2 separate regions of the Homo sapiens genome follow, and region 1 is linked to region 2. Evidence: promoter capture Hi-C in 16 types of primary human blood cells and fetal thymus (Javierre and others, 2016). All regions are on one chromosome and are shown on one strand. The core of a region is centred on a gene start or on the middle of the fragment in contact, and the rest is flanking DNA. Distances in the headings are between cores, read along the strand shown. Region 1 overlaps DNMT3B (DNA methyltransferase 3 beta). Region 2 holds the start of BPIFB4 (BPI fold containing family B member 4).

Region 1 (4,436 bases), core at 720-3,219, 290 kb before region 2:
GTAGAGATGGGGTTTCACCATGTTGGCCAGGCTGGTCTCGAACTCCTGGCCTCAAGTGAGCCACCTGTCCCGGCCTCCCAAAGTGCTGGGATTACAAGTGTGAGCCACCATACCTGGCCCATTTTATTTCTTTAAATATATCTATGGTTTTGATGTTAGGATTAGGTGGGCTCAAGGAATTTTTTTTACAAGCTGGAAGAAACTTGTCTAAGCTTATTTTAATGAATTTCAAACAATTATATCTTCTAAGACTTGCTACATTATCAAGCTTTCTACTTCATTTACTTTTCCAAGGTTGGATCTTTCCCATCTTGTTTTGTGTTCCTTCCTTTACTGACACCGTCTGTTTCCTAATTATTCTTAGTAGAGTTTGTCAATTGGGTTGGTTTTGCTCAGAGCCAGTATCAGTCATAAAAGTCCTGGGCAATGAAAACTCACCCTCAGCTTCCATTCTCTTGGTGGTGGCCAACCTACTTAGGGGACTCAGAAGGTGGGGAACCTAAGCCCTGGGAGGAATTAGGGCAGCTGCAGGATCAGAGGCTCAGCACTGCTGTTTTGTTTCTGGTAGCTAGTTACCAGAAACAGTAATGAAATCTCTTGCCCACACGTTTCTTTTTGTTTGTTTGTTTTGTTTTGAGACAGAGTCTCCAGTCTGTCGCCCAGGCTGGAGTGCAATGGCACGATCTCGGCTCACTGCAACCTCCGCCTCCCAGGTTCAAGTAATTTTCCTGCCTCAGCCTCCCAAGTAGCTGGGCTTACAGGCGTGCACCACCATGCCCAGCTAACTTTTGTATTTGTATTTGTATTTTTTTTTTTTTTTGAGATGGAGTCTTACTCTTGTTCCCCAAGCTAGAGTGCGGTGGCGCGATCTCGGCTCGCTGTAACCTCCACCTCCCAGGTTTAAGCGGTACTCCTGCCTCAGCCTCCTGAGTATGAGTAGCTGGAATTACAGGCACATGCCACCATGCCCTGCTAATTTTTGTATTTTTAGTAGAGACAGGGTTTCGCCATATTGGCCAGGCTGGTCTTGAACTCCTGACCTCAGGTGATCCACCCGCGTCGGCCTCCCAAAGTGTTGGGATTACACGCCTGGCCTAATTTTTGTATTCTTAGTAGAGATGGGGTTTCACCATCTTGGCCAGGCTGGTCTGGTGACCTCAGGTGACCTCAGTCTGCCCCAGACTCCCAAAGTGTTGGGATTACAGGTATGAGCCACCACACCCTGCATATTATTTGATTCTTGATGTAACCCTGTTGTGCTATGAGGGAAGTACTGTTATTCCAATTTTAAAATGAGGGAAATGGACTCAAAGCCACACAGTTGGTGAGTGAAGGCAAGTGCTTAACACTCCAGCCAGACCTAGCTGCTCGCTGCTTCAGCTTTTGTGTTTGGCTTATGCTGGGTTTTGGTGTGAGGTGTGAGGCCTGCACGAGGAAGCCCTGATGACATGGTGCAGGTTTCATGCCATTGCTTCCGGGGCATCTGTCGTGGTTGGTCTGTGTCTGCACCCATATGCAGTGTGTTGTGATGAGTGACCCGGTCTCCCTGCCAGGCACAGGCGATCAGTCTTTCATATTGCAGGTGCCTTGTTTCTTTGACTTGCTGATACCCTGGGGTCTTCATCATGTTCATCATGTTTCCTTATAAAGGACTTGACAGGCGATGGCGACGGGGAAGATGGGGATGGCTCTGACACCCCAGTCATGCCAAAGCTCTTCCGGGAAACCAGGACTCGTTCAGAAAGCCCAGCTGTAAGTAGCCACACCTCGAGCCAAAGCACTTGTGGCCAACACTCTACATAGCATACATAGCATGCTACATACATAGCATAGCTCCTTAGGGGAGCTTTTAAGAGAAAGTGATGAAAAAATGTTTTGAAACTAGAAAATATAAGCAAGGCTCTTGGACTATTGTTGGAGGGTTTTCTTTTTTCTTTTTTTTTTTCTGAGACGGAGTCTCACTGTGTTGCCCAGGCTGGCGTGCAATGGCGTGATCTTAGCTCACTGCAACAACCTCTGCCTCCTTGGTCCAAGTGATTCTCCTGCCACAGCCTCCCAAGTAGCTGGGACTACACGCACCTACCACCACACCCGGCCAGTTTTTGTATTTTCAGTAGAGATGAAGTTTTACCATGTTGGCCAGGCTGGTCTCGAACTCTTGACCTCAGGTGATCCACCCACCTTGGCCTCCTAAAGTGCTGGGATTTCAGGTGTGAGCCACTGCGCCCGGCTGGAAGGTTTTCTCTATGTGCCATTTCTTTCAGGTGGTTTTTAAGTTCTTTCTTGTAACACTCTTGGAGGTGCCTAGGGGTGATAGAGTTTGCAGGGTGGATGGCTCAGCTGCTAATGACCTAGGGAGTCCACCATTTCTGTGGGTGGATTTTGTGCCTCAGAGTTTTGAGGTATGGCAATGGGAAGGCAGTTATTGCTTATGGTCACCCAGCCCTTTAGAGACCAGACTGACAGTTACTATCCCAGGTGTGGGTTACAGTCTTCCCTTCCCAGGATATGGTCTGTATCATCCCCTTTGTGGAGATGAGAGAAGATTCCAGCAACTTAACTGAGGTTAAACATCAACTCTTCTATGCATAATTTGGACACAGGTTCTGCAACAACCAAATTCATGCCATTTTTGACAATGAACATGGAGCCTAAGGAATTCTATTCCATCTTGATGATCTGGTGCCTTCCTGAACCCAGTAATTGGCCTTATGCTTCTTTGACATAAAAGTTTATTTTAGAGTGAACACGAATTTTTCTTTCTTTCTTTCTTTCTTTTTTTTTCTTTTTTTTTGAGATGCAGTCTCACTGTGTTGCCCAGGCTGGAGTGCAGTGACGTGATCTCAGCACACTGCAACCTCTGCCTCCCTGGTCCAAGTGATTCTCCTGCCTCAGCCTCCTGAGTAGCTGTGACTACAGGCACCCACCACCATGCCTGGCTAATTTTTGCATTTTTAGTAGAGATGGGGTTTCACCATTTTATCCAGGATGATCCTGAATTTCTGATTGCAAGTGATCTGCCCGCCTTGGCCTCCCAAAGTGCTGGGATCACAGGCATGAGCGAGCCACTGCGCTTGGCCAGATTTTTATTTTTCAATCCCAATTGGCAGGTGCCATTTCAGCTGGCCATGTCTGTCTGCTGTGACAGGCAGAGCAGGACCTGCTGGGAATTGTCGGGCATCCTAGCTGGCCACCCTACCACCTCTATTCCAAGAACTGGGGAATTCTGGCTGGACTCAGTCCAGAGTCCCACCTCATCACCTGTTCACTTCCAGTTGTCCTGAAGCTGGCTACCAGGTCTCCTTGGCCACCTGAAGGCCTAATCCTTCTGGCCCCGCCAGACCCCAGGCCTCCAGTCACCTAAGGCCCAGTGAGTGTCCTCTCTTGCTTCTAGGTCCGAACTCGAAATAACAACAGTGTCTCCAGCCGGGAGAGGCACAGGCCTTCCCCACGTTCCACCCGAGGCCGGCAGGGCCGCAACCATGTGGACGAGTCCCCCGTGGAGTTCCCGGCTACCAGGGTTGGTTCCCCAGATGCCCAGACCCCTGCCCGCAGTCTCTAACTGGGAGATATGCCTCACTCACTGCACTACTGGTTGTGGCTGGTAGATAATCTGTGTCCTTTTTTCACACTGCTTTTCAGGTTCTTGCTTTTTCTTTTCTCTCCTGGGTAAGCTTCCCGTAAGCCTGTTGGCTTCTCTCCTGGTCTGATCTCAGATGACACTCTGTTGGGAATGGAAGCTTTCCCTGTTGACTTGGTTCTTGCTCTAACTTGGAAACAAGGTAGAAAACACTGACATCCAGAACTGTCTTCTCCCTCATGTCTTCTTCACCTGTCTTGAGGCAACCCTAGCGGGTATGGCAACATTTCACTCTCTGAGAGTCCCTCGTCATTACCCATCATTTGTGCCTTTGTCATCTTTCTGTCTCTGGGACAGTTACAATGACTTTCTCCCCCCTTAAGGGATACGTGTTCCTGGAAAAGTTTCTTCAGCGGTCTCTGTTCTCTTTAACTTCAGTCTTTCCTCTTTCTTTTTGCCTAGGAGCCATATGGGGGTGCCGTTGGTCTCTGGTCACCGACATCCTTTGCTCTGGCCCAAACTATGTGTCCTTCTGTCCACAGTCCCTGAGACGGCGGGCAACAGCATCGGCAGGAACGCCATGGCCGTCCCCTCCCAGCTCTTACCTTACCATCGACCTCACAGACGACACAGAGGACACACATGGGACGCCCCAGAGCAGCAGTACCCCCTACGCCCGCCTAGCCCAGGACAGCCAGCAGGGGGGCATGGAGTCCCCGCAGGTGGAGGCAGACAGTGGAGATGGAGACAGTTCAGAGTATCAGGTATGGCCGAGAGGGGCTCCTGCCCAGGGTGACTGAGGACCCTGAACACGGGGAAAAACCAGTTACCTGCTACTGTTGGTAACAGAGCGACA
Region 2 (4,428 bases), core at 193-2,692:
CACTTGTTCATTTGTTACACTGGCATCTATGCCTGTGCTGGCCTAGGAGTGGGGCACATAGCTGGTTCGCCTGGAGAAACAACACTTCACTATGGGCCCCAGGGATCTCTGGATGGGCCAGAGGAACTGTAGGGGCTGGGGGAAGCTTCCTGCAGCTGCTTACCTTTCACCCTTAGAATCTGGAGAGGGCTTTGTAGACAGCAGGGACTGCACATGCAAAGGCCCAGAGGCAGGGAGCACAGGGGGTGATGAGGAGGGGATGGAAGGAATGAGTAGCTCTGTGTGAAGAGAGGACTGGGATGTGTGTACGGAAGGCCTTGGATGCCAAGTGAAGTGGTCTGGGCTGTGTCCCAGCAGGTTTTGGAGGGTGCAACTGGGAAAAGGCAGACGGAACATTCTGGGGTGGTGGAAATGTTCTATATTGTGATAGGAGTGTGGGCTGCATGACCGTAAAAAATGGTCAAAACTCAGCAAATGAACATTTAAGATTTGTGCATGTCACTGTATTTAAAGATATAAAGAAAAGAATCTGAATGCCATGCAGGGTGAAGTGTTTAGTGGTAGTATACTGATGTCTGCAACTTTCAAATGCATAAAAAATAAAAGATGGACTAACAGATGGATGCAAATATGACAAGAATGTAAATGGTGGGTATAGTTGGTGGGAACAACGTGACAACCATGTGTGTCCGCTGTACATTTCCTTCACCTTTGCTATAGGTATGAAAATTTCATGAGGAAATAGTTGGGAAAAACCTTGTTGTATCTCATACATAGTAAACACTCAATAAACAGCAGCTATTGTTATTACTTTGGGACTATTATTTCAGACCCCTAAGAAATGAGTGAGGAATATTTTTCAGATAAAAAAAATGCACATTCGTGCACCAGTCCCAAGTTTGAGGAGCTGGATTCATATTCGTCTCCTTTAGTCCTAAAATCAGCCCTGTGAGGCAGGTATTATACTCATTTGCCAGATGGAAAGAATGTGAGGCTCAGAGGAGGGAAGTGGCTGGCCCAAGGTCATACGGTGAGTTGGGGGTTGAGCAGGGTTTGAACCTGGGTCATCCTGATGCTGAGTCCAGCCTGGGCACCTCCTGTCTACCCAGATCATCTGGAATGGCTAGTGCCTGCCTTAGAGTTAGAAACTAGATGCATCTGGGGGTGATTCCAGTTCCCCAAGCTTGAGGCCTAGCTGGGGTCTCTGGGAATGTGCCCAGCCCAAGGGCTGATAAAACCCAGCTCATGTGACACCATCTGGGGCTGAGTGCAAGTCTTGGAATTAGCCACAAACCGCAAACCTTTATGGTTTTGGGGCTCAATGCCCAATTTGCAGAGCAAATCTGAATTCCGGTCTCTTGTAATTACACAGTGTTTCCCTCTCTGGGGTCTGGGCTCAGCCTCAGGCTGCTATATAAGACTGATCTGTGACCAGACTCAGCCAAAAGCAGAGGGGCTGGGGAACAGGACTTCTCAAGACTCAGCGGCAGGGACCTCCTAGGGGTAAGGAGGCGCACCTTGTCTACTCAGTGTCCGGCAGGGGAGGCACAGGCCTGGGAAGGTAATAAGGAGAGAGAGTCCCAGCCTGGAGATCCATCAGGATGGCCCCTCTCCAAGTTCAGGGGTCTTGTCTGTAGCATGGGCCTAGTCAGGAGAGCCTCTTGGGAATCAGCAAAAAGGCCTGGGTTATGCCAATTACATGCATGCGCAGAGCTGCACTCATCTTTCCCAGGGACGTTGGGTACCGAGGGCCTTTGCTACCTCCTGGAGACTCCTCAGCTGTTTGCTGATGCCAGAAATCTTCCATCGGTGCCCATCTTTTTAACTGAAAGGGGTGATTCCTTTTTGAACACAGCTCTCTGGAAAGTGAGGTTAGGATGAGGTGAGGAAGCCAGAAAAAAATTATTGCATATAGTAGTCCTTTATATTCTAGTGTAAATGAATGCCTCTAATATTCTTCTGGGAGCAGATAGGAGTAGGGAAAGAATTTGGGGGCGCTGTGAAGTCCAAGAGAAATGGGGACAGAAAAAAGAGGAGAGTGTGCCTAAACAAAGGTGGCTGAAACCAACAATTTCTTGGCTCAGATGAGAGGCCATGCCCTGTGCTGACTCTCTGAGGTTGGTGGATGTGTAGCCGGGGCTGATGGAGTGAGAGAAGTGGATGAGGGCACAAAAGGAGCAAAAGAAAGTTTCCCAGAGGCTATGCAGCTCGTTCCAAAATGCATGTTTCACCTCCCCAATCTCATAACATTCCTCACCCACTTCTTAGGGGTCTGAAATAACAGTCCCAAAGTAATAACAATAGCTGCTCTTTATTGAGTGTCTACTATGTATGAGATACAACTTGTTTGTGATTTGGGAGCAGAAGTTCAAAAAGGTAAAGTCCCTTTCCTAAGCATTAAGACCCAGATATCTCTGACCTAGAGCCATTAATATTAACCACGTGGTGTAGAACTGACTCCTCCAAAGAGATGGGAAGAGTGTTTGCTGGTGAGCTGGATGTGTGGAAGGGTGGCTAGATGAATGCATTGATGAGTAGATAAACTGATGGAAAGATGAATGGATGGATGGATGGATAGCTGGGTGGATGGATGGTTGGTTGGATAGATGGATGGGCAGGAGGATATATGGCTTGCCAGCTGTTTGGATGACAGATGGATGATAGATATATGGGAAGATGGATGGATGGTGGGATGGGTGGACAGATTAATAAATAGAGGGAGGAGAATGAGTTGATGAGTGGATGGATGGTTGGTTGGATGGATGGTTGGTTGGATGGATAGATATATGGCTTGCTGGGTGTTTCCATGACAGATGGGTAATAGATAGATGGAAAGATAGTAGGTTGAATGTATGGGTGAATAGGAGAATAAATACGAAGGGGAGAATGAGTAGATGAGTAGATGGGTGAGTGATGTAGAGGAATGAGTAGATGAGTAGATGGGTAGATGCTGGAGAGAGTTCCTTAGAACCTGCGAGCTCCCAGTTTGGTGTTTTTGTTGGAATCCCTATTACCCATCTCCCTGATGCTCAATTTGTCAATTCCATCTTGGGAGATAATTAGACATCCATTCTCTGAAACAGTGTGTTTAATGGGTCTGCTTTGTGTCACCAGATTCATTTCAATTTGAAAAACTCAAAAGGTAGTATCTGGAATTCTGGACCCTGCCTTAGTATGTGACCTTGGCTGGTTTCCCCTCTCTCTGGGTCCCAGGGTCCTGAGATGACTCTTGGCTGGGGCTGCCTAGTGCTACCTGCTGGCCAGGGTGGTGGCGCCCAGCCACATCTGCATCTGCACTTTCTCCTCCACAGGGAAGCAGTGCCAGCATGTGGATGGCCTGGTGTGTGGCTGCGCTGTCTGTGGTGGCTGTGTGTGGCACCAGCCACGAGACAAACACGGTCCTCAGGGTGACGAAAGATGTGTTGAGCAATGGTGAGTCCAGCCCCAAAGGGGTGAGGGTTGGCATGGGGTGAGCAGGGCAGCTCTGCCAACTCTGAAGTACCCAGGAACCTCCTCCTGCTAGCAGAGTTCACATCGGGAGGCTGGGTGAATTCTACTCTCTGGGCCTTAGTTTCTCCTTTTTCTTTTGACTACCATTTCCTGAGCACCTACTATGTGCCAAGCACCATACTGGTGACTTTATGCTCATTCTTTAGAGGCAATAGAGAACAATGATTAAGAGCCCTGGATCAGCCTTCGTGGGGTTCAAATCCTGACTGTGTGACCTTAAGTTCATGACTTGAGTTCCCTGAGCCTCAGTTTCTTTATCTGTAAAATGGGTGTAATTATAGTCTCTATCTCAGAGAACTGATATGAGAATGAAATGAAATGACCTTTTGAAAACTTAGCACAGCTCCTGGGACTTAGAAGGCCCTCAAAAGTGGGAGCTATAATTATTCTTGCCTCCAATTCTTAGGACCTTGCTTTTGTCATCTAGCATGTGAGGACATACTTTCTCCCTCAACACCCATCCCAGGCTATCATGAGCATAAAAAAATGAGATTATTTCCTATTTAAGTGATCTCTGAGTACCTCACAGGCCTCAATCTTTCTATCCATCAGACGGGTACACTTCTGGCCTTGACTATTTCCCAAGAATCAGTTGCGATAATACATAAGAAAGTTTATTTTATTTTATTTTATTTTATTTGAGACGGAGTTTCGCTCTTGTTGCCCAGGCTGGAGTGCAATGGTGCGATCTCGGCTTACTGCAACCTCCTCCTCCCCGTTTCAAGCGATTCTCCTGCCTCAGCCTCCTGAGTAGCTGGGATTACAGGTGCCCACCACCACACCTGGCTAATTTTTGTATTTTTAGTAGAGACGGGGTTTCACCATCTTGGCCAGGCTGGTCTCTAACTCCTGACCTCATAATCCACCCTCCTCAGCCTCTCAAAGTGCTGGGATTACAGGCATGAGCCACCACGCCCG

What was found. The method cuts DNA at HindIII sites, captures the fragments that hold promoters and counts their contacts. A CHiCAGO score of 5 or more calls a contact.
Region 1: a fragment that was not itself captured here is called in contact with the fragment with the promoter of BPIFB4 in region 2 in 7 of 17 cell types (megakaryocytes, non-activated CD4 T cells, endothelial precursors and 4 more); the score reaches 8.0 in megakaryocytes.

What each region holds. Positions count from the first base shown.
Region 1 is chr20:32,783,108-32,787,543 of GRCh38, forward strand. It overlaps DNMT3B (DNA methyltransferase 3 beta), which reads left to right. Exons shown (of 23, transcript NM_006892.4): 4 at 1,651-1,752; 5 at 3,395-3,520; 6 at 4,123-4,344. Among named protein-coding and RNA genes, the nearest start is that of DNMT3B, 23 kb to the left of the region's middle. RefSeq lists an enhancer at 3,866-4,436. The HindIII fragment of the contact is 3,406 bases long and covers 267-3,672 here.
Region 2 is chr20:33,078,201-33,082,628 of GRCh38, forward strand. It overlaps BPIFB4 (BPI fold containing family B member 4), which reads left to right and starts at 1,443. Exons shown (of 18, transcript NM_182519.3): 1 at 1,443-1,503; 2 at 2,269-2,376; 3 at 3,312-3,432. The coding sequence starts at 3,327. The HindIII fragment of the contact is 19,838 bases long and covers 1,182-4,428 here.